Linked DNA regions of Homo sapiens: all the other regions are linked to region 1. Evidence: promoter capture Hi-C in 16 types of primary human blood cells and fetal thymus (Javierre and others, 2016). All regions are on one chromosome and are shown on one strand. The core of a region is centred on a gene start or on the middle of the fragment in contact, and the rest is flanking DNA. Distances in the headings are between cores, read along the strand shown. Region 1 holds the start of CNTRL (centriolin). Region 2 holds the start of C5-OT1 (C5 3' UTR overlapping transcript 1). Region 3 overlaps RAB14 (RAB14, member RAS oncogene family). Region 4 overlaps C5 (complement C5). Region 5 overlaps CNTRL (centriolin).

The links. Contacts are between HindIII fragments. The CHiCAGO score rates a contact against its expected background, and 5 or more counts as called.
Region 2: a contact is called between a fragment that was not itself captured here and the fragment with the promoter of CNTRL in region 1, in 7 of 17 cell types (naive CD4 T cells, total CD4 T cells, activated CD4 T cells and 4 more). The highest score is 9.9, in naive CD4 T cells.
Region 3: a fragment that was not itself captured here is called in contact with the fragment with the promoter of CNTRL in region 1 in 8 of 17 cell types (naive CD8 T cells, naive B cells, naive CD4 T cells and 5 more); the score reaches 9.2 in naive CD8 T cells.
Region 4: a fragment that was not itself captured here is called in contact with the fragment with the promoter of CNTRL in region 1 in 7 of 17 cell types (naive CD4 T cells, total CD4 T cells, activated CD4 T cells and 4 more); the score reaches 7.4 in naive CD4 T cells.
Region 5: a fragment that was not itself captured here is called in contact with the fragment with the promoter of CNTRL in region 1 in 10 of 17 cell types (megakaryocytes, total B cells, naive CD4 T cells and 7 more); the score reaches 8.7 in megakaryocytes.

Annotation. Positions count from the first base shown.
Region 1 is chr9:121,073,569-121,076,295 of GRCh38, forward strand. CNTRL (centriolin) reads left to right here and starts at 1,387. Exons shown (of 44, transcript NM_007018.6): 1 at 1,387-1,499. It also overlaps a transcript of C5 not described here. RefSeq lists silencers at 651-847, 1,472-1,531, 1,652-1,791 and an enhancer at 962-1,351. The HindIII fragment of the contact is 4,047 bases long and covers 1-2,359 here.
Region 2 is chr9:120,950,341-120,953,067 of GRCh38, forward strand. C5 (complement C5) reads right to left here. Exons shown (of 41, transcript NM_001735.3): 41 at 1,995-2,528. The coding sequence ends at 2,399. It overlaps C5-OT1 (C5 3' UTR overlapping transcript 1), which reads right to left and starts at 2,491. Exons shown (of 2, transcript NR_148450.1): 1 at 1,852-2,491. The HindIII fragment of the contact is 6,552 bases long and covers 1-2,727 here.
Region 3 is chr9:121,184,343-121,187,069 of GRCh38, forward strand. RAB14 (RAB14, member RAS oncogene family) reads right to left here. Exons shown (of 8, transcript NM_016322.4): 5 at 2,611-2,677. Among named protein-coding and RNA genes, the nearest start is that of RAB14, 16 kb to the right of the region's middle. The HindIII fragment of the contact is 6,237 bases long and covers 1-2,727 here.
Region 4 is chr9:120,966,421-120,969,147 of GRCh38, forward strand. It overlaps C5 (complement C5), which reads right to left. Exons shown (of 41, transcript NM_001735.3): 33 at 2,641-2,698. Among named protein-coding and RNA genes, the nearest start is that of C5-OT1, 15 kb to the left of the region's middle. The HindIII fragment of the contact is 5,424 bases long and covers 1-2,727 here.
Region 5 is chr9:121,164,435-121,167,161 of GRCh38, forward strand. CNTRL (centriolin) reads left to right here. Exons shown (of 44, transcript NM_007018.6): 35 at 509-666; 36 at 1,673-1,746. Among named protein-coding and RNA genes, the nearest start is that of RAB14, 36 kb to the right of the region's middle. The HindIII fragment of the contact is 324 bases long and covers 1,251-1,574 here.

The DNA of each region.
Region 1 (2,727 bases), core at 137-2,636:
TGCAGTGGCGCGATCTCGGCTCACTGCAACCTCCGCCTCCCGGGTTCAAGCGATCCTCCTGCAGCCTCTCAAGCAGCTGGGATGACAAGCGTGCGCCACCACGCCCGGGTAATTTTTGTATTTTTAGTAGAGACGGCGTTTCACCTTGTTGGCCAGGCTGATCTTGAATTCCTGACCTCAAGTGATCCTCCCACCTTGGTCTCCCAAAGTGCTGGGATTACAGGCATGAGCCACAGCGCCCGGCCAGGATTCACTTTTATAATTATCAGGAAAACTGTAGGAAGTGTTAATAGGTAAAAGGACCTCATTTCATAGATAAGGAAACTGAGACACAGAGAGAGAGGGAGTTTCTAAAAGTGTTATACAGGTGGCCTATAAACTCTGTAGTGAAGAAAGGAAATGAAGACAGGATAGAATGATCGCGAGAAAATGGTAAGAACAAGGGACTGGAAGACGCAAGGAAGTTTAGAAATACGCTGGCATAGGGGTCTTTTGAGCAGGCACGCTGCTAAGATGATAGGATTATAGTCAAGGATGGGGAGCGATTGCACTGGGGATTTCTGGAGCGGGTGCAGCCTCTGATGGTAACATGGTCCAGGGTATACCTTCAAAACGGGAGGCTACTGGAGTGAAAGGCGTCAATGGTGATAACACTTTAAAAAAAACTTCAGTGTTTCCCTAGCATCCAGCCCAGTATCTGCTAAATTCTTTAAAATATCTGTTGAATGCATGTCGTGAACGCCGTGCTCATGGGCAAGCCCCAGATGAAGCCTGTGCAAGTGCTTCTTGCTTTAACTCCCTTGTAGCAATCAGAGGAACATCCTCTGCCTAGGATTCCCAAGCTCCCTGAACCTCACGCGACAGCTGGAGCCCAGGCTGCGTCCGCTTTGAGGTTCATCCGAGCCTGGGCAGTTCGGTCCCTGGAGGGAATTCGCTTTAGATACGACTGTCAGAGAGAAGTGTGCTGATAAGAACACTCGCTCATAGCGCGCAAGCATCAGAAGTGGGGGAGGCCGGGGAGGCGCTGCGCCGGTGCCTCAGGCCGTCCTCGGACACAGGCCCTGAGAAGCGTGTCCGTGTTTCAGAGGGTGGCGGCGGCAGCTTTGTCTCAGCGAAGGCCACAGCACTGCGGGCAGCTGCCGCATGAAACCTCGGCTCCCCCTGACTCTGCACCCGACACTTCACCTGCAACGCAATCCGAAGGCGAAGGCACCGCATCCCGTCGGCCCCGCGCGGCCGGAAGCCTCGCGCCCAAGACTCCCCGGCATCCTAGCGCGCTGGCTGCAAAAGAGGCGGGAAACGCCTCCGCGTCCCTTCCAACAGTACCGGAGAGGGAGAGGGGCGTGGCTGAGACTAGCCCCGACCACGCGCGCGCGGCCCCTCGGCAACCGGCACAACACAACAAAATGGCTGCCGCGCCGCTGGGCCCCTGAGGAAAGAGCCCGAACTTCTCCCGCTCTACCTCAGCCTGCGGGACTGCTCGGCTCGGCTTCTAGGCGGTGAGCGTCAGACCTGGCCGAGCCCGTTCCCCGGCATCCGGCCCGAGCAGTGGGGGCCGGCGGCAAAGGCGGGAAGGCCCGGACCGGGCGTGGTGTGGGCCGGCTTGGGATGGATTCGGGGCGGGGGCGCGTGTCTGGGAATTGGGATTGGACGGGAAAGAGGGGAGGGCCCGGAACGGGCGTGGGGCGGTGGATGAAGGAGGGAGGTTTGGATGGGAAGAGGTGGGGACGGCGGGGGCGATTGGGGATGAAGAACCAGAGTGTGGGGAGGTGTGGAAGTTAGGGTGCGGCGCCCAGAAGGTTGTGGGTCCTGCCACCTGAGCTGAGGGGAGAGCTGGGATGTGCCAGCTGTCTGTGGGGAGTGAGCGGGAGAAAGGACAGTTTGGGCGTCCTGACGGGTTGTCACGGTATCGGACGGAGTACAGTGCGTGGAGAAAGATGACAGGATATGGGGACGAAATGCTAAAAGAAGGGGAAGAACAAACACTTCCGTTATATTCGTTAAGGGACTAGAGAATTTTGAAGCCAGACAAACTTGGGTTGAAGCCTCAATTCTGCCACCTTGTGTAACTTAACCAGGTCTGTGACCCTGGATATGTGTCTGAGCCTTCCTGATCATGTTTCCTCATTTGTCCAAATAATTGCGAATCATTTTTGGGTGTTCACTATTTGTCAGATCCAGTTTTAAGCACTTTGCACGTATTAACCTCATTTAGAATTTAAAATAACTTGTATGAGGTTATCATCCCCATTTAAAAAGTGATAGCACTGAGGACCAGAGAGGTTAAGTAATTTGCCTAAGATCACACAGTAAGTGGAAAATCAGAATTTGAACTCAGGCTGTTTCGTTCCAGAATCCAAGCTTTTAACTGTTCAGGTACATTGCCATTTGTAAATCAGGTTAATAATTCTGATCCTATACAGCTAAATCTTTGAGGATTTAAATTTGGTATTGTCTAAGTGTTTAGTACAGTCCTTCAGTCAACAAATATTTATTGTTTATAGAACAACAGACAAAACCTCTGCTCTCTTGTAGCTTATAGTCTAGAAGGAGAAACAGGCAACAACCAAGTAGTTTCACAAATAATGGTTATAAAATGCTATGAAGGAGACTGCTTGGTGCAGAGATCATGGGTAATAGGGAGATAAAATCTTCTGCATCTTGAGCTTAGATTCTAGCATGGTTCTTCCTACATAAAAGTTGCTCAATAAAATTGAATAATTAATG
Region 2 (2,727 bases), core at 102-2,601, 120 kb before region 1:
TAGCTATAGATAAAAGAGACATTAGAGTGTCCAATTCCCTTATTTTATAGGCTATCAAAGAGATTAAGAGGCTTGTCCCAAATCACTGCCAATTAGGGCCAAAGCCAAGACTAGAACTTGGGTCTTCTGATTCTCTACACTGTAGGGGAATCCACAAACACTTATTGAGTCCCTATGATGTGCCCGACATTGTGCCAACTACAGGAGATACTGGCGAATAGAACAGACTCAGACCTTACCTAAGTGGAGCTTTCAGTGTGGTCACGCTAAACTAATAATTCAATCTGATTAAGTAAATCATTGCAAGAGCACAAGTGCCTTGGAGGAGAAGTGCAGGGTTGGGTAATGGGCCCAGCCTGGTTTGGAGGGTCACAAAAGCCTCACTGAGAAAATATGTTCAAATGCATAGGAGTTAGCTGAAGAGGAGCTGGCAGATATTTTAAATGGTGCCAGGCTAATTCACAAAACCTTCTTTGATATTTGACAGCTGCATTGTGGGTTAATTAGGCCACTGTGGCCTGCCCTATTTGCCAAAGTGCTCAGGAAAAGGCAGTCAGACTCCTGTGCCTTCGAAGCAGCACCAGTGGTTCCCTCCTCCCAGCAAGGAAGTGACAGGAGACACCGAGAGGCCTGCTCTGGAGAAGGTCTCCTCACCCCTCGCTGACAGGGAGTGTGGGCATCTTGAACATGACACATTGGTTGTTTTTGCCAAGGGAGTGCCTACAATGTGAGCTTTGACATTAGAGAAAAATAAGTCCTTAGTCCCTGGAAGTGGAAAATCTTAGTGTTATTTACAAAGGCACACTACAAGGCCTTGTGTAGCTTCACCTAACTAGTAAAAAGCAGACTCTTCAAAAGGAGATGCATTCCAGTCTCTGTTAATTACCGTTACATCCGGAGGTCATCTTCATGTTTCCTGTGATAGTTCAGTGGGGCTGGTTAATCTGTGTCTAAGAAACTTCTACTATATCCTGCCTTACTGTTAGAAAATTCAACCCAACAAGCAATATGTAGTGATGTGGAACAGAGATGTATTTAAACTGAGATAGAGTCTTGGGGTTTGATTTCCAATTCTTTTCCTTACTAGGTTGGGAAAACTGCTTTACTTTTCTGAACCTCAATTTTCTTTTCTTTTTCTTTTTTCTTTTTTGAGATGGAGTCTCACTCTGTCACCTAGGCTGGAATGCAGTGGCATGATCTCGGCTCACTGCAACGTCCACTTCCTGGGTTCAAGTGATCCTCCTGCCTCAGCCTACTGAGTACCTGGGATTACAGGCTTGCTAAATTAGCCTGGCTAATTTTTATATTTTTAGTAGAGATGGGGTTTCACTATGTTGGCCAGGCTGGTCTCGAACTCCTGACCTCAAGTGATCTGCCCGCCTTGGCCTCCCAAAGTGCTGGGATTACAGGCTTGAGCCACCATGCCAGGCCTAAATCTCAATTTTCTTATCTGTAAGATGGGGATGATAATGATAATAATTTCTGAATCTTGTGAGAGGCTTGAGACATTAAATGAGAATATATGCGAGAGCTTTTTAATATGATCTGAAGTGCTGCAAAATGTCACTTAAAAATTAACTTCTGTTATGTATCCTCTTTTATAAAGCTCAAATTGAGGCTCAGAGAGAGACCTGGTTAGGGCTGGAGAAAGGTCTCCCGATCCGCCACTCAGTTTCTTTTCACCAGGTTGCTGCACTGGGGCCTGTCTTTTAGTAAAGCAATTGTTGGCGAGAGCAGGTTCCTGGGGGAAATGAACATGTGCCGGAAGGGAGGGAAAGAGAGTAGAGGGTCTCCCTTCAGGGGTATGGAGAGGGCAATGGACGGGGAGGGGGCAGGGACAAACCCACCTACCTTCTCAGTGCGCTGAGGGCTCTGAGGCTAAGCCCGCTCAAGGTTAAGGTTCTCTACTGCTGACTTTCTCCATCTCTCTCAATTTGCCTGTCTTTGTGTGGTTGAAGCTGATCTAGCATAAAATAACAGGCTTTTTAGCACAGTTTGAAAGCAAACTCAGGCTTTAATGATCAGTTTCCTGTTCCTTGGTATTTTCTTTCAAGCAAAGGCCATGTTTTTGTAATACTCCCTTTCAATGGACTGTTCTTTCGGCCCCAGCAAACATTCCTGAGTGGTAGGTTTGAGGAGGTGTTCCAATTTATTGTTTCCGGTGTCCAATAACCTTGGAGGAGTATCTGTCTTCATGCCCTCCAAGGCCATGTTATTTCAGAAAGTTACAGCATTTGAAATCATTCTCTAATAAAAGCAAGTGCCACTAATTCTAAGTAAAGTGAGCTTTACAAATAAGACCAGCTATGAATGTTTAAAAAAAGAAGAAAACAAAAAAACGAACTTCAACAACAGGAGTCCATAAGTGCAAACTGTATGCAGCTGAACTTCAGGAATTTTAGCATCCATTTAAAAAGATATCTTCGGCAAATTCATCTAAATTAGCTAAAAATGCTTGACACGATGAACATGTTGTGTCTCTAGGCCAGTATTCAATCCAGGTCAAGGAATCTAAAGGGTAGATGTACCTACCAAGAAACAAAGTGTTTGTGAGGTGGCCACAAAACAGAAAAGCTGAATTTGATTTCTTTATTTTTTTTTGAGACGGAGTCTTGCTCAGTCGCCCATGCTGGAGTGCAGTGGCGTGATCTCAGCTCACTGCAAGCTCTGCCTCTCGGGTTCACGCCATTCTCCTGCCTCAGCCTCCCGAGTAGCTGGGACTACAGG
Region 3 (2,727 bases), core at 116-2,615, 110 kb after region 1:
CAAAGTTAAAGGCAGCTCTGCAAAGTTGTAAGAAAAAAATATGTACCCTTGGGAAACAGCAAAGGGCTTTGGCCTTTACCTGGGGTGGGGAGGGGGGTTATGGATAAACTGTCTTTGTACATTTATGAGCTTATTTGACACCAACTGGTAAAATCCTTCCCTTTTTCCCCCTTCCAAACAGATATGGTAATCTAGATATGAACACTTTAGGAATGGATGGTTTCAACTAAAAGGCACTTCAGCCATTAACTTTTTTTCATGTAAAATTACAGCTCCTGGCTCTTCCACTTTCAAAAATGTGTGTCCATAAACCAAATAATCATTTTTATCTGAATGTAAACCTCATGCAAGGACAGTTAAGTAGTACAACAAAAGTGAGCATTCTTTAAACAGTGTGGACAAAGTGCCCACTGTGAAGGGGAAGAAACTTTCATATACTATCCATTAGTATTTTAAAAGAATAAAATAATGATACTTAAAAAGGAAATCAATTTATAAAAAATCAAGTCTGGTAAAGCCACAATGACTAGCATAGGGCCATTACAAGATAGGTACTCAAAACAAGAAATACTGCCCTGCTCCTGATTCCCTATGAATCTCCAAATAAGGCTTCTTATCTCCCTGAAAGGGAAGACATAAAGTGGCATGCTAATTACAGAGATACAAAACATGCCCACAACAAAATGGTAGAGAACACAACTTCTACACAGAAATCAAGGGCAATTCTATAGAAAATGGAGCACTTAAGAAAAACTCAAGAAATTTTTTTTCTCCTGATCTGGTTCTATTTCAAAGCACATAAATGAGGCAGGAAGGACACAGGGCGGTAAGGTTAATTTTATTATACTCCTCCACGGGCCCTCTACAATGAGTTTTGTTTTTAATATTTTACTTGAAATAGCTATAGAGTCACAGAGACTTACAAAAAATAACAGTGAGGTCCTGTGTACCCTTCACCAAACTTCCCTAATGGTAGGATGTTATGTAACTATAATACACTCTCAAAACCAGGAAACTGACATTGGTACAATCTGCAGCCCTTATTCAGATTTCAGTTTTTACACATTCTCAGGCACATGTGCGTTCGTGCATGGGTGGTTCTATGTAATTTTATCTCAGGTGCAGATCTCCATCATCACTATCAGGATACAGAACTGTTCTATCACTACAAAGAAACTGCTTCTGTGCTGCCCTCTATGTCATCACACCACTACCACCCTCCACCCCCTTTGCTAATCCCTGGCAATCACTAATCTACTCCCCATCTCTACAATTTTGTCATTTTGAGAATGTTTTCTAAATGAAATCATACAGTATGTAAACTTTTGAGATTGGCTTTTTTACTGGGTATGATGCCCTTGAGAACCAGCTCAACTGCTGCATATATAAAGAATTCATTCCTACGTACGGCTTAGTAGTACTCCACTATAGAGATGTTCCGAACTGTTTAACCATTCACCTGTCAATGGCCAGGTTGGGAAACACCTAGGTTTCCAGTTCTGGGCTACTGGAAATAAAGCTGCTATGAACACCCATCTATAGGTGTGTATGTAAACCTTGGGTTTAATGCGATAATGGAAATGAAAGTTTCAGGCACAGTCCCTAGCATGATAGGCAAACAATGTTAACTGACTCTCAATATGATTAAACCACCATTTCCTGATAAAAGCTCATCTTACCACTGATAACACAGTTCTTGAAGGAGGCCTCTACCAAATGTTGGGGGTATAAAGCCAAGTGAGACACAAGCCTTGTTCCTGAGAAACTCAAGTCACAGCTCAGTGTGTCTTTCCTCACATTGTTCCTGGCATACCCTCAACAATATCTACTGAAACTTCACTCACCCCTCAAGGACCAGCTCAAACACCACTCCTCTGTAAAGCTGCTTTCTCTCCAGACGGCACTGATCATCCTAGGCTCTCCAGCACTGTGCCAGTCCCTCTATTTCTAATTCGTGCTTCAATCTACTTTGCAGCACAGTTATCTGCATATCTGCTGGTTCTCTCCCTGCTAGACTATAAGCTCTTTGGGACCAAGGATCCATGTTTATCTTTGTATACTGCAGAGTCTAGCATGGTGGCTAGCCTTTAAAATCTCAATAAATATCATCTCAGTCTGGTTAAGAAGCTAATGTTTTAACACATATAGAATCCTTTTTATTTTTGACTGAAATTTTTATCCTTAATTCTCCTCCTGTAGTTGAAATTTTTATTGAGGTAACGCAGATTCACATGCAGTTGTAAAAAACAGTACAGAAAGATCTCTTCTACGTTTTGCCCAGTATCCTCCAATGCTAAAGTTTTATGAAATTAATGCAGATCCCTTTTAAAATCATAATTTCAGATTTCATAGTCTTCACATGAGATCACCACTACATTCATAATAGTAATGACAAACATGAACAAAAAACCTAGGTATAATAAAATGCAAAACCTGGTTTAATAAGAACTGAAAAATAACTGTTAGGTTTTCTTCAACTAATTGAAGAATACAATAAAAATTCTCTCATTCTTAGTACCTGAAGACAAAAATCTCACCAGTAAATGGCTTCCCTTTTTGGGTTAGCTTAGTTCTTAAATTTTCTGTGTAATAAGATGCCATTTAACTTACAGTATTTGGATTGGTGAGATTCCTTGCATCTGTCAACCAGCTGCTTAAGTGGTTATATGTACTTCTTCTGCAAAAATAAAAGTTTAAATTTGTGACTGCCATATAATTATAGAAAAA
Region 4 (2,727 bases), core at 100-2,599, 110 kb before region 1:
GGATTGGAGAAGTAAACTGATTTCCTGAAGGTCACTGGAGTTCTTACTGGTAGAGGCTATCCCACAGGTGTCTCACCCTATCAGAGAGCTCTTCTTTATTGCAAGTCTAGATGCCTCCCTGTAGGGTCCCAGGCACTGATTCGAGCTCTGCCCAGAAGTTTGCTTACACTTCCCTTTGACAACTGTTACAAATTTAAAGGTAATTGTGATCATGCTCCTCCCCAGCTGGTAGGTGCCCAAGGGTAGGAATGGCATTTAGGGGGAAAGAAGCTGCCTGGGAAAGGGCGACCTTACTGGAAAGACATTAGGGAATGAGGAAAGATGTTTGAGCGGGAACAGAGAGCAGGGACTGGCCACAGAAGGAAGTAGGAAATGCTGGAAGGAAGAAATGCTGATGAGGAAGGAAATAGGGCTGAATAGTGAAGGAATCCTAAGAAGCGATTGGGCTTGGGACATAGAGAAGACTGGGAAACAGCTGGGAGGGAGGCAGGGAGAAACTATGTGCTGTTCCTTGGGATTAGTGGTCTTAGATTACACTGATTGAAAGAGGTGGTTTAGGCTGAGCGTGGTGGCTCAGGCTTGTAATCCCAGCACTTTGGGAGGCTAAGGTGGGCAGACCAGCTGAGGTTAGGAGTTCAAGACCAGCCTGGCCAACATGCTGAAACCCCATCTCTACTAAAAATAAAAAAATTAGCCAGGCATGGTGGCATGTGCCTGTAATCCCAGCTACTCGGGAGGCTGAGGAAGGAGAATCACCTGAACCTGGGAGGTGGAGGTTGTAGTGAGCCGAGATCACGCCACTGCACTCCAGCCTGGGAGACAGAGTGAAACTCCATCTCAAAAAAAAAAAAAAAAAAGATGTGGTTTAGATACTGGATTGAACATCAGAGGTTGGGGATTTGAGCCCCTAGCTCTGCCTCTAACTCTGTGAGCATTTGGCAGGCGACTTTATCTCTTTGGGTCTTAGTTTCTTCATTTCCAAAACAAGAGGATTATGATATCATCCCTAAGGTCCTTCTCAGCTCTCATCTTTTGCACAACACTATTGAATTTCCAAGTTATCCACACTGGGTGCATGATTATAAGTAAAATCAGCAAAATGCCATCCACAGATATCACTGTTATTGACAATACAAGAGTTAAGAAAATAGAACACAATAGAAAGGACTGAGGGACGATGGAAAGAACAGGGAAGAAGTCTGTGTTTCAGTCCTGGCTCTACCACTCTCTGATCACACTGTGTGATCACCAAAGCCAAAAGTATATACATATTTTCAAATACCTACATATTCTTTTCTTTTTCTTTTTTTTTTTATTTGGAGACAAGGTCTCAATTTTTCGTCCAGGTTGGAGTGCAGTGGCGTGGTCACAGCTCACTGCAGCCTCAACCTCCTGGGCTCAAGCAATCCTCCTGCCTCAGCCTCCTGAGTAGCTGGGACTACAAGTGTGTGCCACCATGTCTGGCTAATTTTTAAAATTTGCTGTAGAGATGGGGTCTGGCTATGGTGCCCAGGCTGTTCTTGAACTCCTGGGCTCAAGCAATTCTCTCTCCTTGGCCTCCCAAAGTGTTGGGATTACAGTATGAGCCACTGTACCCGGCAAAAAACCTACACTTTCATAAATGTTTTAGGATGGTGGCTGTGGTAAGCAGAATAATGGCCCCCAAGGGTGTCCATGTCCTAATCCCCTGAACCTGTGAATATGTTACCTTATGTGGCAAAGAGAACTTTACAGATGTGATTAAATTAAGGATTTGAGATAGGGGGTTATTTGTGCAGGCCTAATGTAAAGACAAGAATCTTTATGAGGAAAGGAAGCAGGAGAGTCAGAGAAGGAGGTGTGATGATGGAAGCAGAGGTCACAGTCAGATTGGAAGATGCTGTGACACTGGTATTGAAGACAGAGAGGGGCCACAAGCCAAAGAACACAGGTAGCCTCTAGAATCTGGAATAGGCAAAGAAATTCTAGAGCTTCCAGAAGGAATACAGCCCTACCCAGCTCCTTGATTTTGGGACTTCTCACCTCTAGAATTGCAAGATAGTAAAACTGTGTTGGTTTAAACCATTACATTTGCAATAAATTGTTACCTAGCAATAACAGGAAACTAATACAGTGGCCAATTGAGGCCTCGGTATTTAGTTGGGAGAGGGTTTAACATCAGTGGTTCTCAACCCTGGCTACCATTAGAATGACCTCTGGAGCCCGGGACATTTGGACAGCTCTAAGAGCTCTCCAGCTGACTTCAATGTGCAGCTTGAGTTGAGAATCTAGCTGATAATGGATTTTGTTAGGTAAATGTGATTTTTCTAAGTAAGAGAGTAGGGGCTGTTTTTGAGAGAATCTTTTATATTTTTTTCCTAATTTTTTAAATCACATTTCTATCCCTCTGAAAGAGAAAAAATTAATATTACACTGTTTGAATCAGAAGACAAAACAGACAGAGAAAACTATTATGAGCAAAACCAAGGCTGTTTTTTATGGTAAGTAGCAATTTAAGAATATATATGTTCTGCATTTTTAAACAATTGAACAATTTTGTATCTTCTGGACATACCAAAATTTGAAAATATGTAAAGAAACAATACGTTAACAAAAATGAGAACTTGGAGTCTATGCTCCCCTTTGTGGAAATAGGCTCACCTGGCACATGCTACTATGCGTTTGTAATCAGAGTTTCCGTAGCCTCTGTAGTGGGATGCTGGCACATAAGACAAGAAAACAAACAGA
Region 5 (2,727 bases), core at 163-2,662, 91 kb after region 1:
GGTATATCCACACTGTAGAATACTACTCAGCAATAAGAAGGGAATGAAGTATTGATATACACAACATGGATGAATCTCAAAGTAACTACGTTGAGTGAAAGAAGCCAGACCAAAAGCAAGTCCAAACTGTATGACTCCCTTTATGTACTACAATACATGCTCATGCATGTCTGCTATATGGACAGATCCTACTGTACACACAATTGTTTTCTACTCTTTCGATTGTCACAGCTCCATTTTTATCAGATTTTTGGAATTCTGAATGTTATCCATGTTTTTAATCCATGATTTTTATAAAACTTCAATTTAGTGAGTCAGTTTTTGAAAAAAGTCTCCACTTAGAAAGCTGATAATAAGATTCTGAAAATGAGTTGAGTCTTAAATTTTGTGAAGATTTATAATCATTTATACTTTCCATAACTGTATGTTGTGAAAGGATAACACTGTTCCTCAGTCATCTCCTGTGTGTGCTTGTATATTTGACAGTCTGACTTACTCTCTGTGGTAGGGTTTTAGCAGCAGCAGAAGAAAATAGCAAAATGGAGCAATCAAACTTAGAAAAGTTGGAATTGAATGTCAGAAAACTGCAGCAGGAACTAGACCAACTAAACAGAGACAAGTTGTCACTGCATAACGACATTTCAGCAATGCAACAGCAGCTCCAAGGTATAAGGCAGCAAAACAGTGAAAGTGTGTGATTTCCTTGCCCTTCGTTAGATTCTTTGATTTTTCTTACGACAAGTAATTCCTGCTAATGAGCATGGTGTTTCTTTCTAAAATTAGATTGTGGTAATGTTTGCACAACTTGGAATATACTAAAAGCCTTTGAATTGTACACTTTAAATAGGACATGATATGTGAATTTTATCTCAATAAAGTCAGTTAAAAAAAAAAACCTAATTCATGTTCCTTAGAGAACAATTTTAAAACAGCAAAAAGAAATAAAAATTGCTGTTGACCTCACTCCTCATAGATTCCTAGTAACAGTTTGGTGAATATCCTTCCAGATTTTTCCTAGGGGTGTGTCTAGTTTGAAAAACAAAAACAAAGATGTAAATAATGAAGATTTTAAAATTACCAAATGTTTATAAATATGATAATTTATTTAGAAGAAATTGCTGAGTAATTCTAGCTAATAATATACTTGTTGAACATTTTTTATATCCTTGGTATTTCATTTTCTCACTTAATCCTCATAACATTTTTATGAGATAAAAATTATTTTACTCATTTGTAAATAAGGAAACTGAAGCTTAGTTTTCTTGTGACTGCTTAAATGAGAAGTGACTTGCTAGAGGTCACACAGCTAGTAATTGACAAAGCCAATATAGATAAAAAATTTATTCCCAAATTGCCTTCCTGAAAGGTTAAGTTTCTATTTCTACCAGCAATGCAGAAGGTAGCTGTTTTTAAACACCTAACATTAAGTATTATCTGTAATTTTTTCGTTGTGAGATTTTGAACATGAAAATCTTTAAAAACCTGAGCTCCAAGCCCAAATCTGGATTGTGCATGTAACTCTCTTTTGGCCTTTAATGAGATAGTGTGGCATAGTCATACATGTAACAGGAGTAAGCTTAAAACAACTTCTCTACTTTTTGGGAATGCTAATGGGAATCTGTACAGTAAATACGTATGTATTTCTTATTTCATGAGAATGTCATTTCTTTAGAAAAACGAGAAGCAGTAAACTCACTGCAGGAGGAACTAGCTAATGTCCAAGACCATTTGAACCTAGCAAAACAGGTAAGGTTAACAAATGTAATATTCTAGTAGTATACTGAGGGTATGCAGACCATTGGTTTAAATAACAAAGAAATCAAGTAGGCTGGTTCCTCTTCACAACAGCAGATACCGTAGGGCCATTTATGTAACATAACCATCACATAAATAAAAGTTTTGATGGAGAGCAGTGGTTTGCTAATTTATTTTAGCCTTAGAACTCTTGATACAAACAGTTTTACTCAAAGCTAGTAAGTAGGGTGGTGGCTAGACCAGAGCCCAGCAGCAGTCTCTCAGCAGCCCTTCTTGGGGTTTCAGGGACCAGATGGGCCATCTCTCATCCATGACACAGATGAGGCCTCTAAAGGCTGGGCTTAGATTTGATTACTCCTTGAGCCATAGAGTACCCGCCAAATCTGGGCCTCTATCTTGTCAGATATTGAATATAGCAGATTTTTGACCCTCATACTTCTAATGATTTTCTTAAAGGTAATTCAGTGTTGTCCTGTGAGACTAGTGCTGTAATTCAAAGCACTTCAAACAAGTTCTAGACTTCAGTTTCTATTATGTAAATTAAGAGTTATGCCAGGTGCAGTGGCTCACACCTGTAATCCCAGCACTTTGGGAGGCCAAGGCGGGCAGATCACCTGAAGTCGGGAGTTCAAGACCAGCCTGACCAACATGGAGAAACCCCATCTCTACTAAAAATACAAAATTAGCCAGGCGTGGTGGCACATGCCTGTAATCCCAGCTACTCGGGAGGCTGAGGCAGGAGAATCGCTTGAACCCGAGAGGCGGAGGTTGCCGTGAGCTGAGATTGCACCATTGTACTCCAGCCTGGGCAACAAGAGTGAAGCTCTGTCTCAAAAAAAAAAAAAGTTAACATTAGACACAGGCCATCCCAGCACTTTGGGAGGCCAAGGCAGGTGGATCACTTGAGCCCAGGAGTTCGAGATCAGCCTGGCCAACATGGTGAAACCCCGTCTCTACGAAAAAGACAAAAAA